2 separate regions of the Homo sapiens genome follow, and region 2 is linked to region 1. The links are contacts of gene promoters, found by promoter capture Hi-C in human tissues and cell types (Jung and others, 2019). All regions are on one chromosome and are shown on one strand. The core of a region is centred on a gene start or on the middle of the fragment in contact, and the rest is flanking DNA. Distances in the headings are between cores, read along the strand shown.

What was found. Contacts are between HindIII fragments. The study calls those that stand out against the background at their distance.
Region 2: a fragment that was not itself captured here is called in contact with the fragment with the promoter of KIAA0232 in region 1 in 1 of the 25 tissues and cell types used here (heart left ventricle).

Annotation. Positions count from the first base shown.
Region 1 is chr4:6,778,653-6,786,414 of GRCh38, reverse strand. KIAA0232 reads right to left here and starts at 3,688. Exons shown (of 10, transcript NM_014743.3): 1 at 3,574-3,688. RefSeq lists silencers at 2,599-3,368, 3,429-4,308. The HindIII fragment of the contact is 16,993 bases long and covers 1-7,762 here.
Region 2 is chr4:6,988,388-6,996,149 of GRCh38, reverse strand. TBC1D14 (TBC1 domain family member 14) reads right to left here. Exons shown (of 14, transcript NM_020773.3): 4 at 1,848-1,966. Among named protein-coding and RNA genes, the nearest start is that of CFAP184, 51 kb to the left of the region's middle. The HindIII fragment of the contact is 7,304 bases long and covers 333-7,636 here.

The DNA.
Region 1 (7,762 bases), core at 2,439-4,938:
GGGAGGATCACTTGAGCCTGGGAGGTTGAGGCTACAGTGAGCCACGATCACACCACCGCACTCCAAGCCTGGGTGACAAAGCAAGATGCTGTCTCAAAAACAAACAAACTTTATTTGCAGACTTAAGCCAGGGTCAGAAAAAATAAAAATAAATATACTTTATAATATTAACATACTCTTTAAGGTTGATTACAGACTTTGACTTTATTTAGCAAACATTTAAACACTTACATTTAACATTAAGCACTTATGTTTAAACGCCTGAGCAAGGTGTTGGGGGCAAAATGATAGGATAGACACCACAGCCAGAGTTTACTATGACCAATTTATAATACAACATGATATAGACAATAATGAAGGAAAAATAGAGAACTATGATTGAGGAAAGGAATAATTCATTGTAATAGGACTTCCAAAGGACTCCAGAGAGAACAGAATATTTGATATGAACTTTTAAGAACTGGAGGGAGTGGGAGTGAGACAGGACATTCCAATAAGAGAAAAGAATATAAGCAAAGAAGGTCTGAAATAGCTTGGCATGTTCAGAGAACCAAGAGCAGTCTTGTTTAGCTGGACAGTGTGGAAAGGGGACAAAGAGGACAAGATAAAGTACAGAGATGACTGGGGGCCAGACTGCAAGGGGCCTGCATTGTGATGCTGGTATCTCTGAATTCTAAGCTCCAAACCACAGGCAGTCTTAGAAGCCTACTGAGCCAGAGACTGACAAGATCTGAGCTCAGGAAAGATGACTCTGGCAGCCAGGCAAAGAATGGATAGGAAGGGGTGGCGAGGAGCCTGAAGACAAAGTTAAAAACTTTAAGCAAAGCAAGTAATCTGAGGTTTTAACACTTACACTAGGCGAGTATTTTTAAAGGGTTTGAGTCTTGACGACATTTCACGTCTTCCCTCAAGTGATCATCCCAACTATTCTGTGAAACAGGTGTCATCAATCTTCCCATTCTACAGATGAGGAAATTAGCTCACAAGCCATTAACTGCCAAGTCAAATGCTACAAAAACAAGGACAAAGCGCAGGCTCAGCACTTTTCCACACAATGAAAAATAAAGAACAAGAACAATCTAATTTCTTTTGAAGAGTGCTACCGTACAACATAGCACAGAGTAGGCTAGCTACATTACCCTATATTACCACTGGAAGTGTTAAAAATCCATCTAATCAGCCAGGCGCGGTGGCTCACGCCTGTAATCCCAGCACTTTGGGAGGCTGAGGCAGGCGGATCACGAGGTCAGGAGAGAAAGACCATCCTGGCTAACACGGTGAAGCCCCATCTCTACTAAAAATGCAAAAAATTAGCCGGGGGTGGTGGCATGCACCTGTAGTCCCAGCTACTCGGGAGGTTGAGGCAGGAGACTCGCTTGTACCCGGCGGGCGGAGGTTGCAGTGAGTGAGCCGAGATCGCGGACTCCAGCCTGGGCGGCAGAGCGAGACTCCGTCTCAAAAAAAAAAAAAAAAAAAATTCATCTGATCTTCTTAAATGTTTGCAACTTGCATAACAAGCTAATTATCCTTAGATTTGACTTCTGTTAACGTCATGTTAAAGACCTATACTTTTTCTCCAAAGCAAACAAAAAAGCACCTGCACTTTGAATTCTACTTCCTATGGAAATAAATAAGAATAATATTCTCCCTTCCCTTCAATGTTTAAAAACTGGCATTTCACTGATGTAACGGGCTTACATAAAAACCATTATACCCAAGGAAGCTGTAAACCACTTTTTGAATGATTAAAAATGCATTATTTAGCAAGTACAGCAATTGAATCTGAGTTATAAGATATATTAAGTGAAAGGAGCTTCTATAGATATGCAAAGGCACACTCTCGGAAATAGGTTCTGTCATAAGGAAGCGACATAGAGATCCTGAGACCTATTTAAGAATGGTTCAATCCAAAATAACTGATGGAAGAATATTTGACCTTGAGGATGCAGAGTGATAGAATCCGCTCCTCCTCCCCCCCCGCCCTCACCCGCCTTTAAATTCTAAGTCCACGAAATGGTCAAAGTGTTCTGGAACGGGTCTTATTTTGCATAGGAAGAATCTAGCTTGGGCATTTTACCGCACAGTTTTATCCACAGCATCGCCTATTACCAAAACTGCTTGTCCCTACCCCCTCACGAGCTTTCTAACAGTTTTTAAAACAAGACCCAGAAATGTAAAATCCCTTCTTAGGAACTTGAACAGTAAGTCAAAGTATCCAACCCAGGTAATTATTAGCAAGAACTACATTTATATAATTTTTTCCAAAGAATCTCGCATGCCTCCTCTCCGCTGAATCTCCCTCCTGTTTTTAACTGGGTTAAATCTTTATAGCTTGCCTATAGAGGACAAAAACGGAAAGGTGGCAAAAAAGAAATCAAGACAGTTCTGCCATGATTTAGGGGTCTGTACCAAGAGTTCGGCAGGTCCTGTCACCTGCGCACCACAAGACGCAAGCTGAATTCTAGGGCAAGACGAAGCATTCCAACACGACACACACTGGTTTCTCCAGCGGGAAGAAGCAGAGAGCTCTAGAAATGCCGGCTGCAGACGCGTATTGTTGGAAAGGAGCCGGATCAGGCCCCGCAGCAACTCGGGGCGCCCTCGCGACAGGGTTTGCCGCGCAGCGCACGGATGACTGTGGGCCTGTCACTCCTAGCTCCAGCTGTAACCTTCGCCAAACCTTGCGCCGCACCGGCCCCGCCCGCCAGGCCCGCCCCCCGCGCCGCGCCCCGCGCCATAGGCCGGCGCGCCAGTCGCTCAGCCGGCCTCCCGGCCCCGCCCGCCTGCGGCCCTCCTCCCCCGCCCGGCGGTTTTCCCTTCCCGGGGCCCCAAAAGGACAATGCTGGAGGGGAGGGGAACGGAGGGAACGCGAGCGAGCGGCCCAGGCTGCCGGCCTGACCCCGCTGCCGGGGACGCCGGGCGCCTCCCACCGGCCGAAGCCTTCCTCCCGCGCCCACTTTCGGGGCTCTACGTCCTATCAAGTCTAAGCACCCCCGCCTCGTCTCCCCTAGAAGAGCCGCCCCGGCGCGGCGACACCTGCCCCAGGCAGGAGGCAGCCAACGGCAACCCATTGTGCGGACTCATCGTCCACAGCCCACCCGGGCGCAAGAGCCGCAAGCTGGTGTCCCGGCGTCCTGGGGTCGGGGCGGGGGTCCCAGGGCCCACAGCTCACCCGCACGCCCGGGCACCACCAGGATCGGGGCCGGTCAGGCCTCCCTCGGCTGGCCCCGGAGCCATCAACAGCGGCCCGGTCTCCCTTAGGCTGGCCCCGGAGCCATCAGCGGCGGCCCGGCCTCCCTCAGGCTGGCCCCGGAGCCCCCGGCGGCGGCCCGGTCTCCCTCAGGCTGGCCCCGGAGCCCTCGGCGGCGGCTCGGCCTCCCTTAGGCTGGCCCCAGAGCCCACGGCGGCGGCCCTGTCTCCCTTGGGCTGACCCCGAAGCCTTCGGCTGCGGCCCGGCCTCCCTCGGGCTGGCCCCGGAGCCCCACGGCGGCGAGCGTCCGGCCTCCCCGGCCCGCGCCCACCCGGCCGAGGGGCTGCTCCGCGCCCTCCCTCCCCGCCGCCTGCCCGCAGTACCTGCCGAGGCTGCCGGGCGGCGCGGCGGCCGGCGGGGGCGCCTCTCCTCTGGCTCCGAGGGGCTGCGGGCGGCTGCCGAGCGCCGGGCGGCCCTGGCCTGCGCCTTACGTAAAGCGGCGGCGGCGGCCCCAGCGCCACTCCGCGGAGGGCGGGAGGCGGCGCGCCGGGAGCCGCTCCGCTCCGTTACCCGGCAACTGGCCTCAGCGCCCCGCCAACCAGGGGCGCGCTCCATATCCTTCCGCCCGGGTGCCGGGATTACATCAGCGCCGGCCGGTCCCCGCCCCTGCCCCTCCCTCCGGCTGGGCTGCGGGCGCGCGCGGGCGGTGGGCCGCGGGCTGACGGCGCGAGGGGACAGGCCGGGGCTGGTGCCTGGCGGGTGGGGGTCTAGGGCCCGGGACGCGCCGTGCAGCTTGGCCGGGGCGGCGGAAGCCGCTGGGAGGTGAGAGGGCAAGCAGTAGAGAGGGCAGGCAGGAAGCGGGAGCCCCCCAGCGTGCTGGGCGTCGGAGAGGAGACGTCTCCCGCGGAGGGGCACGTGGGACTGCCCTCGGCAGAAGCCCCCGAACTCTGCCGCCGCGCCCCGCCCCCGGCCCGCGCTGGGGAAGTGGGGCTCGGCGTGCACGGCCCCGCCCGCGGCCCGGTGCAGCCCCCGCCTTCCCGGGCTCGCGCGCCACCTGTCCGCGCCCCCTCCTCGCCGCGTCCTGGGATGGCTGGAGTAGGCGGCTTAAAATAAAGACTTTAATTTTTTGTTGTTGTTGTTAAGGAACCCAGAAGACAAGCTAAAGAAATGTGACATGGCTCTTTTTTTATTAACTAGGCAAAAATAAATTCTGGAAGCTTCGAAAGTGGAAACCAAAAATGTGCATTAACCTTTTAATCAAAGTGTCTTCACAGCCACCTACCTTCCCTAAATGTGACTCCTAGGCCTGTTCTAAAAAAGCAAATAAGTATCATGGACCTGGAAAAGGAAGGGAGATTACTTAGAAGAAAGAGGTCCAATGGGAGGAGTGACTTACCTGGGGTCATTTGTTCATTTATGCAGCACCCACTAGGTGCCAGGCACTATGCTTTTCTGTTCAGAACCTGTTGGAGAATTTCCTGCACCAGCTCACGGGCTTGTGGGAGAAGCAGATGCTGAAACACTGGAGAGGGGTCATCTGCTGAGTTGGCTAGATGCTCCATGCATCCATGGAAGGACAAACCGAGGAACTGTCGCTTACGTACTATCTACAGAGTGTTTTTTCTGCGAACATATCTTTTTGTTCTTTACAAAAATCGTGGGACAAATCTTTGTCATCCGCATTTAACTGGTGAGGAAGCTGAGGCTGAAAGAAAGTGATTTCACCCAAGCCTGGCTGCTACCGAGTGGACAGGGCCTTCTGACCTTGCTAAACCACCTCTTGCAGGAGACAGAATGTGAACCCAGGCTCCTGGCTCTGAAATATGGGGTTTCGTTTCCTTTACACTACTGTCTCCCTTAACCAGTTTGCTTCTAATTGTATTCTCTGAGCATTCGCTCAGGTGAATGTATATCGTCATAAATCACACGTTCATTCAGTCAGTTTCTTCTGAGTGCTTGTTGTGGACCTGGCTCAGTGCCGGGAACGCACAGTCCCTGTGCTCCTGGAACTCAAACTCTAAAAACAGTGTCGAGAATGGAAAGGGTATGGGAAATCCAGGGCCACTTGGGAGTAGAGGAGGGGAGAGTAGCAGAGCTTCAGAGCCTAGTTCACAGGTGCCTCCAGGCTCCAGGATTTCACAGACCAAAGTATGGGGGATTTGCAAAGGATGGTCAGCTTTTGATTTTTGCTACATTGGTGACATATCTGTCATCTACATCATATTTTACAAAAGAGTATTAACAGCAAAATTTTTTGAAAAGTAATAACAGTATATCTCAGTTCTGAAGAAAGGAAACACGGTTGGCACCTGTATAGTGACACACACACACACACACACACACACAGAGTTTATTGACCTTTTTTTTTATTACTTTGCCACAGACCAGTTTTTATACTAGTTCTACCATGAACTAGTAGAACCTGAAGACTTCTTGGAAGAAGAGGTTTTTAAGTAGGAATTATCTTGTATTAATAGGATTTGGAGCTGGTGGGGAAAGATGACAGATTAGGGAAAGAAAGTGTCTTGTTTACTTTGTTTTCTTAACAAAATAGCCTCCTGTCCTCCAAATTATTTTGATAAAAATCCTAGGAGTCTCAGCTGACTCCAACCTTAGGGCCTTTGCATCTGCTGATTTCTGTGAGGAACTCCCTCCCCAGACCTCTGCGTGGCTGGTTCCTTCTTGTTAAAGGCCCTGCTACGATGTCACCTGCCCAGAGACATCTAGATGCCCAGTTTGGAGTAGCCAACCTTCCCAGTCATGATGCCACTGCTATATTTTGTTTCTTTATTCACAGCTCTTATCAGTATCTGAGATCATCTCGTTTGTATGTTTGTTTCCTCATTCATCTCAGCCTCCTCACTCAAGACCTGTATCTCACAAGAGCAGGCATTTTGCCTGTGGTGCTTATTTTCATATGCCCAGAGCCCAGCACGGAGCCTGCCAGTTTGTAGGTGCAGGACTGAACTATCATCTGTGATGTAGTCAGAGTGCACATCAGGGAGAAAACAATCCCACCTTCCCTTGAGCAATCAGGAACAGGGCTCTTCTGCATGAGCCCCTTACCCCCTGTAGTGTGCCACGCTGCCTACGACCTTCCTTCAGGCTCCCGGGTAGAGATCAGCCAACTTAAACTCAGGAGAACAGTAGCTTTCTCCCTCTTGTGGGCTAAGATCCCTAGGGAATGCAAATGAGGCCAGAGGACTCCTGCGTTAAGGCAGGGTTGGTGTGGAGGCGGTAGACTCCCCCTTCAGCATTTTCTGAGAAGAAACCATTGTCTCCTGTGTATGTCTGAGATCATTCATTTCATTTCTCTAGTCTCAGGAGCACCTGCCACAGCTTTTTAACCCCTACAGCCGGGTAAGGCAATGCTGGAGGAAGCTGACGACTCTGAGTGCCCTCTGACTTGGATGTTCGATGCTAGCGAGGATTCTAGCAGCTGCCATCTGGGGCAGTGATTGTGTAATGTGTATGCTTAGTGAACAGCAGGGATGAGGCTGGGTCCGGGATGCTTTGTGATGTCGTGTGGCACACGGACTGACGGCAGGCAGGGGCCAGGCCTCTTCGACTCTGTGATCTTGGGTACATAATCTCCCTCTCTGGGCCTCAGTTTCCCCATCTGCACAACAAGGGACTTGGGCAGGAAGATTTCAAAAATCTCCTTTGTTCTGTGCCTGTGTGTGTGTGTGTGTGTGTGAGAGAGAGAGATTTAGAAACAAAATTTCAATGAAGCTACACTTTGATAAATGATATACAAATCCTCACCTGTCACCTGACACGAGCAATGCCAGCTCCTGTTTACTGACCCCCAGGTGCATGCCAAGTGCTTTGCTCACATTGTCCTTAACTCCCACAATACCAGGCAGGGAAGAGATGATCCCCATTTTGCAGCCACAGAAGCCAAGGCTTCTCTGGAGACTTAGGTGGCTTGCACAGGCCACACTGCTACTAAAAGGCAGCACCAGGATTTCATTTTAGCCCTGTGCTTGCTACTGGGCCACACAGTATCATTAAAATCCATCCTGAGATGACTTTTAAATGAATGAGGCCAAGATAAAACCCTGACCAGATAATCTCCCCATTGCCTCCCCATGGGACCAAGACCCTCACTTGGGATACTAACTAGGCATCTCAGTTCAGATGCTGTCAGTCAAGGTGGCCCACATCATGGCCTTCTCTCTTAACCACCCCAGGCCTGCACCCGCATTCTGACAGCCTCTCCTCTCAGTGGCTCTCCTCTCTTAGGGGTAGTAACATCATTCCAGGCCTAAAGAGAGTTCAAGCCTCTGGCATAGCCCCATGGTCTGACCTTGAGCAAGGCCCTGACCTTCTGAGGGTTTCGGCTTCCTAGTGCAGGAAAAGACAGAGGAATAACGCCTTGTTCCGCTTGCCTATCCCTGTAGGGCCAAACCAGATCAGAGGTGTGGTTGTCTCCTGCTTCCAAATTTGTTCCTCACTTCTATCCCTCCACCCAGTCCATGGAAAATCAACAACGTCATCAGCAATGTCACCAGAAGTAGGGGAGCACGGTGATTAAGCACACTGGCTGATTAGCTCACTGATGTGGGTAAA
Region 2 (7,762 bases), core at 2,735-5,234, 210 kb before region 1:
CAAGTTCACTATAAAACAAATGAATGTGGCTCACGCCTGCAATCCCAGCACTTTGGGAGGCCGAGGCAGGCGGATCACGAGGTCAGGAGGTCGAGACCATCCTGGCTAACATGGTGAAACCCGTCTCTACTAAAAAATACAAAAAATTAGCCGGGCATGGTGGCGGGCGCCTGTAGTCCCAGCTAATCAGGAGGCTGAGGCAGGAGAATGGTGTGAACCCAGGAGGCGGAGCTTGCAGTGAGCTGAGATCGCGCCACTGCACTCCAGCCTGGGCGACAGAGCAAGACTCCATCTCAAAAAATAAATAAATTAATTAATTAAATAAAAACAAATGAATGGGCTGGGAGCAGTGGCTCACGCCTGCAATCCCAGCACTTTGGGAGGCCGAGGCAGGTGGATCACGAGGTCAGGAAATAAAGACCATCCTGACTAACACATTGAAACCCTGTCTCTACTAAAAAATACAAAAAGTAGCCGGGCATGGTGGCACGTGCCTGTAGTCCCAGCTACTCAGGAGGCTGAGGGAGGAGAATCGCTTGAACCTGGAAGGCAGAGGTTGCAGTGAGCCAAGATCGCGCCACTGTGCTCCAGCCTGGGCAACAGAGCAAGACTCCATCTCAAAAAAAAAAAAAGAAAGGAAAAATGAATGATAAAGATTAGCAGGAAGAAAATAACAATTATCCATAACTGCAACAGTGATAAACACTTAATCTTTTGGTATATTTTCACCCCACACTCCAAAGAAACTTTGATTTGACTGCAATACACTAATAACTGTCAACACCTAATTCTTGAGGCAGGGCACCCTAACAGCATTTGTTACATGTATGTATGAAGACATTTCCTGACCAGATTTTTAAAGTGAACAGATTTCATACTAGCTACGTGGTTCATTTGTTTTTTGACATATACACAGATGTGCACCTTAGTTCTAAGCATCTTGGTATACCTTCAAAACCCATTTAAAAAAATACAATTCGTGCTCTCTTTCAGAAGCGTGCTTGTAACTGTACTGGCACTAGGGTAAAAGGAGAGCAGGAGTGTCTGGCTGCCTGTGTCCCTCACACAACAGGACCCACATTCACTGGGACATTTTAAACAACCATCACTTGCAGGAGAGTCCGCCAGTTCACCTTTCAGAGCATGAAAACGACTGGACTTCAAAGGCCAGAGTCTTTTCCTGATGGCCTCTAACTTTCCAGTCCTCCATTTCTCTCCCCAGCATACAACTTTCAAGGACAAGAAAATAGTAGAAGACACACTGCTTCTTTTTTTTTTTTTTTTTGAGACGGAGTTTTGCTCTTGTTGCCCAGGCTGGAGTGTAATTAATGGTGTGATCTTGGCTCACTGCAAGCTCTGCCTCCCAGGTTCAAGTGATTCTCCTGCCTCAGCCTCCTGAGTAGCTAGGATTACGGCACCCATCACCACACCTATTTTTTTGTATTTTTAGTATTTTGTATTTTTAGTAGAGACAGGGTTTCACCATGTTGGCCAGGCTGGTCTCCAACTCTGGACCTCAAGTGATCCACCGCCTCGGCCTCCCAAAGTGCAGGGATTACAGGCGTGAGCCACTGCACCCAGCTGACAACTTATTTTTAAATGCTAAAGTAAAAAGAAAAATTACCTGAACGGAAAATCCTGGTCAAAACTTCTATGCTATAGGACAGTTTTCCAAATTGGTCATTTAATATAATTACAGAACACATGTTAATATAGAGAATAAGAAGTGATTCTGGCTTACTCTTCTCCCCTTTTCTGACCCTAGTTTTTCTCTAATGAAAAGCTGCTTAGCAAGTTGTACTTATTTCCTAAAGCAAACACTCTAAAGAGAGTCTTCTTAAACTCACGCTGGTCTGTCCTCGAGGATGAGTGCGGTGGTGGAAAGTGGTTCAAAGTCAAGATTCTTCCTCACATTCTGCTTTGGAGAGGGTGGCTTGCTAGGTCTTCCAGCCTTGTCTTCATATTCCTAGGACAAAGAAACCAGGGATGACTCCAGGTCCTTTCAGATAGGATGAAGTCCTTCGGAAAGTAAGAAAGTTGTTTTGTCATGAAACTCTTTTAAGCCAATTTCGAGGACAATTCGCCAAAAACCTTTCCTGCTATTCAGAATGAAAAGCCGCTGACTAAAGGGGTCTTTCTGGAGATGGAGTCTCGCTCTGTCGCCCAGGCTGGAGTGCAATGACATGATCTTGGCTCACTGCAACCTCCACCTCCTCGGTTCAAGCGATTCTCCTGCCTAAGCCTCTCAAGTAGCTGGAAATAGAGGCACTCACCACCACGGCTGGCTAATTTTTTTATTTTTAGTAGAGATGGGGTTTCACCATGTTGGCCAGGCTGGTCTTGAACTCCTGACCTCAGGTGATCCACCCGCTTCAGCCTCCCAAAGTGCTGACATTACAGGCGTGAGCCACTGTGCCCAGCCTAAAGGGGTCTTAGAGTTCCAAAGCTGAGACCATTGCTTTATGATATGACTGCACGCTTCCCTCGTTGGTGGGGAAATAACAAAGGATCTCATTATCAAAGCAGCCCCTTTGAGGAGGGCCCTCAAACGCTGCCTCAGGTCTACTGTCTCCTGGGTAACAGGCATGTTTTCTCTCTTCTGGACACTGTAAATTTTAACTGATTATTATCACGGCCACTGGGAAGCTGCCACTGCAAATTGTTATGTAAATAGTTTTGCCATGCCCTGGAAATCTAAGAGCAGCCTCCACATCACTGGGTCACCGATTCACCCGTGCACTGCAACCACAAGAGCTCATTCACACCCGGTGACCCACATTCCAAACGCCCAGCTGGAAGAACTCAGGAGAGCCAAACAGGTTGGTGCTTCTGAAATAATGTGTAGGTACTTCGCTCTGTGCAAAATCAAAAAACACAATCATTTAAGATGATTATAGATAATTAAGGAAATATTACAGACAAGGCTCTCAGGAATGCCCCTGAAGGGAAGATAATCTCATTGAGAAGATAGGACAAAGAAGGTAGTGTTAACCTAAGATTTCATGTTTGTCATGAGGTGGTGAGAAATTGCTAAATGAATTTCAGGGAAACTAGCTGTCAAGAGGCGTGTTACTGGTGAAATTATGCGGCAAGCAATTATTCTCTTAGCCAGAAAGGCCTCTAAAAAGTATAAAGAAATAGATTATTTCCTCAAAATACACAGGCTATGAGAAGGACGTGCACCAAGAAGCAGTTGGGTGGGGCAGTTTCTGTACACCTGGATGTATATGGTCACATGTCTTAACACTGTTTACTGTGGCTTAACATGGTTTCATTACAATTCTAAAATTACTTCCACTTACCAAAAACTGAAAACACGGACTCATTCCTTGCTGGATTCAAGCATCTGAACATCTACACTGTATGGGGTACACAGCCGTGACCTAAGACGGCACTAGCCCTCATGAAGCTTCAAGTCTAGCACCTGAATGTCAAAGTCTCCAATTTCATAGGAAATCAAACAAAAGCTGTGTGTTGAGAAAGATTCTGAGGCATGCTGCATTTTAACAAGAATTAGTAACACATACCCCATGAGGTGCTACTTATCTGCTGAGCCTGGTCTGGTGAACTGTATGCCAAGGCCAGAATGCTGGGCCCAAAATCAGCCATGGCAGGATGTGGATGCCCATTTCCATCGGCTTTTGTGTGCTCTGTGCATGTGGACTCACTTTGTCTTCACAGCAATCTGCTTGGCAAGTGTTACCCATTTTAAAGACAGGGTAACTGAGGCTCAAAGTGAAGTGACTTGCCTGAAGCATACAGCCAGCAAGGCTGGGCCTGCCGCCCTGAGCCGGCCCAATATCATCTGTGAATACACTCAAACCCACAGGTGTGCAGTTTTAGAGGGGAAAGCCCGAGTCCTACACGGCTTAGGTGTGGCCTCTGCAGCCAGATAGCTCTGGGAGCAAATTCAGATCCACCAACCACCAGCTGTGACCTCGGGCAAGGTACTCACTTCAAATCCCTAAGCCTTCTTTCCACATCTGCAAAATGGGAAACCCCGCCTGCCTCACCCTGAGTGGGCTGCTGGAAGGAATGAGGTGATGTCACAGCCTCTGGTGCACAGGGAGTGCTGGAGAAGGGCAGCCCTTGTTGGTCTGCGCCACTAGCTTTCTCTCCCCTCAGACCTGAAACCACGGGAAAGGCAGAAAACCATGCTCTAGTGCCAAACAACAATCTAGGAGCCCTGCCAAGTTGCCAACAGCACAGATACAAAAAGTAGGAGTAAAAGGAAGTAAAAGCCTTGAGTCATGACCAGAAACATCAGATCGCTTCAGTCAGAGCTTCTTACTATTACCAACAGCAACAAACAGTGGCGGCGGCTGACGCTAACAAGCCCAGCACCTCTGAGTGCTTTACGCGTGCACACTGGGTTAACTCCATCTCCTCCACACCAGCCCCCCGAAGGGGCTGCTCCACCCTAGACCATGCTGGGTTAACTCCATTTCCTCCACACCAGCCCCCCGAAGGGGCTGCCCCATCCCAGACCACGCCAACAAGACAGCTGCACAAGGACACGCTGTACCTCACCAGCGCAAAGCTGTGGCTGTGGTCAGATGGCCCAACGAAGGTTCAAGAAAAAAAAGCAGGGATGCAGGCTACCTGAGGCAGGCATGGTTTCCTGCCTCTTCCAGTGGTTTCAGGTCTGAGGGGGAGAAAAAGCAAGTGCCACAGACCAACAAGGGCTGCTGTTTCTCCAGCACTCCCTGTGCACCAAACACACACGGGGACCCAGAGGTGTCCGTGACTTACCCGGCGGGCAAGTGGGGAAGCTGGGTCACAGGCCACGCGCTGGGGTTCCGCAGCCACACTCCTCATCACAGAATTCATGCAAGCCTCTGGCAGACATGCATCAGAAGTAATCCATCATTCAGATTCAGTCTCAGTAGTTTTCACAACCGTGACCGAAACCTCAAATACTGAACTAAGTGCACAGATCAGCAGAGACGCAGGGTCAAATGCTTGTTTTAATCACAGACCAAGGCATGATTAAAATAATAAAGTAACACAGGTGGCCTAGCCTGCTCATACTTGAAATCCCAGGCAAAGCCCTTTCCAAAACCTTAGGCACCCTTTCAGAAGAGAAATGGTGTTGGAAATGGTGACAGGTCCTGCTCTAGACCCGGTTCTCCCAGGGCAACCTGGAGGTGACAACAGTAAGCTCACTGTCCAGGCCAGACAAACCAACTTTAGAAAGAAGAAAGAGGACTGTTCACTCCCAGGATCCCGGAGGGAAGAAACAGCACTGGAGAAAGAACACTCAGTTGTGGATTATCAGCGCTAAGGTCGGGCTAGCAAGGGATAAGGCTCTGGAAGTAAAACCAGAGTTCTAGGTCCTGGCTTGGGTGAGTCGTCTTGTCTCTCAGTCTGTTCTCAGCTATAAAACAGTAGCAACTGTACAGACCACTGTGGCGGTCAAGAGATAAGATATGTAAAATGGCTGGGCACTCACTCCCTCAAGTGCCAAGCCCTTTCTGTGTGCCAGGCAAGTACTGGTGCGGTCCACTTCAGTCCAACTCATCATTCCCAAGTTCCATCTCTGCATGGGACCAAATTTTGAAGTCTCTTGGTTTAAACCAAGCATCGATGCCCGTCTTGCTGTGCTCGTCAAAATCCCTGCAGACTAACAGGTAAAATAAACTGCCCACTTAAGTGACAGCTGCCACCCTGGACAACCCTAAAGGGAATTTATTTATTTATTTTTGAGGAGTCTCGTTCTGTCACCCAGGCTGAAGTGCAGTGGTGCAACCTTGGCTCACTGCAACCTCTGCCTCCCGGGTTCAAGCGATTCTCCTGCCTCAGCCTCCCAAGTAGCTGGGATTACAAGCGCGTGCCACCAGGCCCAGCTAATTTTTGTATTTTTAGTAGAGACAGGGTTTTGCCATGTTGGCCAGGCTGGTCTGGAACTCCTGATCTCAAGTGATCCACCCACCTCAGCCTCCAAAGTGCTGGGATTACAGGCGTGAGCCACTGCACCCAGCCCCCAGAAGGAATTTAGAACAAGGTTCTTCAAAGTTCTAGCAGCAGATCAGTTTGATTGGTCACAACAGCATTTTTAAAAAAAACAAAACAATAAAACACAGTACATAAATACAATTTGCTTCAGCTTTACACTTAGTTATGTCAGTACAATGAGTCTCAATTTAAAGTGTCTAACTGGGGATAATTTCAAAAAAGTTTGCAGGCTGTCAGTTTAGAAGCACAGTTGTTCGAAGTCCCTGCTCTGGGCAGCTTATAAGGAATCACGCTGGGAAAGACGAGACCATACCAACATGGCAGCAGCACCTCACTAGCAGCCAACTTGTGGGGTGTGGTCTGATGACCCAGCTAAGGTTGAAGAAAAAAGGCAGGGAGGCAGGGTGCCTGAGCAGAGCCCCAGTCTCATGCAGAGGGCTCTGCATGAGACTCAGCATGCAGGGCAAGAGGGAAGGGGCCATGTGGAAAAGAGGAAACTAATTTGTGAAGGGACCACGCGGGCCTGGCAGTTTAGGAGATCCTCAATCTCCAACCCAGCAGGGCTCACTCGACAGGGGCAATACGATGCAGGCAGAGGCTCCCACACAGGTGAGACCGTGAGATGTGCCAGGAGGGGCGAGCCACACACTGTGGGAGGAAGGGCAGGATGCCTGAGGCCAGGGGGACATGGGAAGCTTTCACAAAGGGGCCAGCTGAGTGGACAGACAGGTAAGACGTGGGCTAGAGGCCAAGAGGAAGAGGCACTCTGACAGCAGAAGCAGTGGCCAAGAGACACCCACAAGCAGGCTAGCACCAGGATTTGAACCGGGAATGGTGCAGAGTCAAAGTTGTTTTGCTCTAGATTTGAAGGTCTCAACACGTTACCCAGAGGTGCTGGGACAAGCCCCAGGAGAGAGAGGAGAGCCAGAGGAGAGACTATGAGGTATGGGGAGCCCCTCAGACGCATCCAGGGGCAGGGTCTACATTCCACGTGTGATCTGCACAGTGCTAAAGACAAGAAGGGCACGAGGCTCCTGAATTAGGTTTAACGTTTGTTGGTTTAAAAAGCGGGGGAAAAGCCTGCTTCAATGCACATTTGTTTTAAGAGCGAAAAGAAAGGATCATGATTCTCAAACAATGAAGAAGTATTCCTAAGCCTGGCACAGAGGTGCTGTGCCTGTGGTCCCAACTACTCAAGAGGCTGAGACAAGGATCACTTGAGCCCAGGAGTTCAAGGTTGCAGTAAGCCATAACCGCACCAGGGCAACAGGACAAGACCCTGTCTCAAAAAAAAAAAAAAAAAAAAAAAGAAAGAAAGAAAGAAAGAAAAAAGAAAGTACTCCTGGTAGAAAGACAAGAAAGGTCATCAATGCTACTTATGAACTGGAGGAACACTACAAAACAGCCAATGATGTCAATAACCTGCTACTGGAAGCCCCCTGACTTCCAGGAAGGAGCCTCTGGCTCCCTGGAAATCTATTTTACCTAGAAGAGGAAAGGGTCATCAGTCAAATCCTGTGCTTAAATCTCCGACCCCGCTGTCTGCAGTATCAAGATTCACCAGTGAAAATAACCTGAGGATTTGGGAGCGCGCCTGGAATAAAGCTGCCAAGGCAGGCTGGCCATCCGAGTGGTACCTATCAAAAGACTGACTTGAACTAATGCTGTGACAGCACGGCCACCACATCTGCACAGGCTGAGGACCCAGGGAAGCGCTGGGGGACAGCGGCAGGCCTGGTCTGAGCCAGCACCACCAGCAGAATGACCTTGAGCTCCTCCTCCATCCACAAGCCTGTTTCCTCATCTG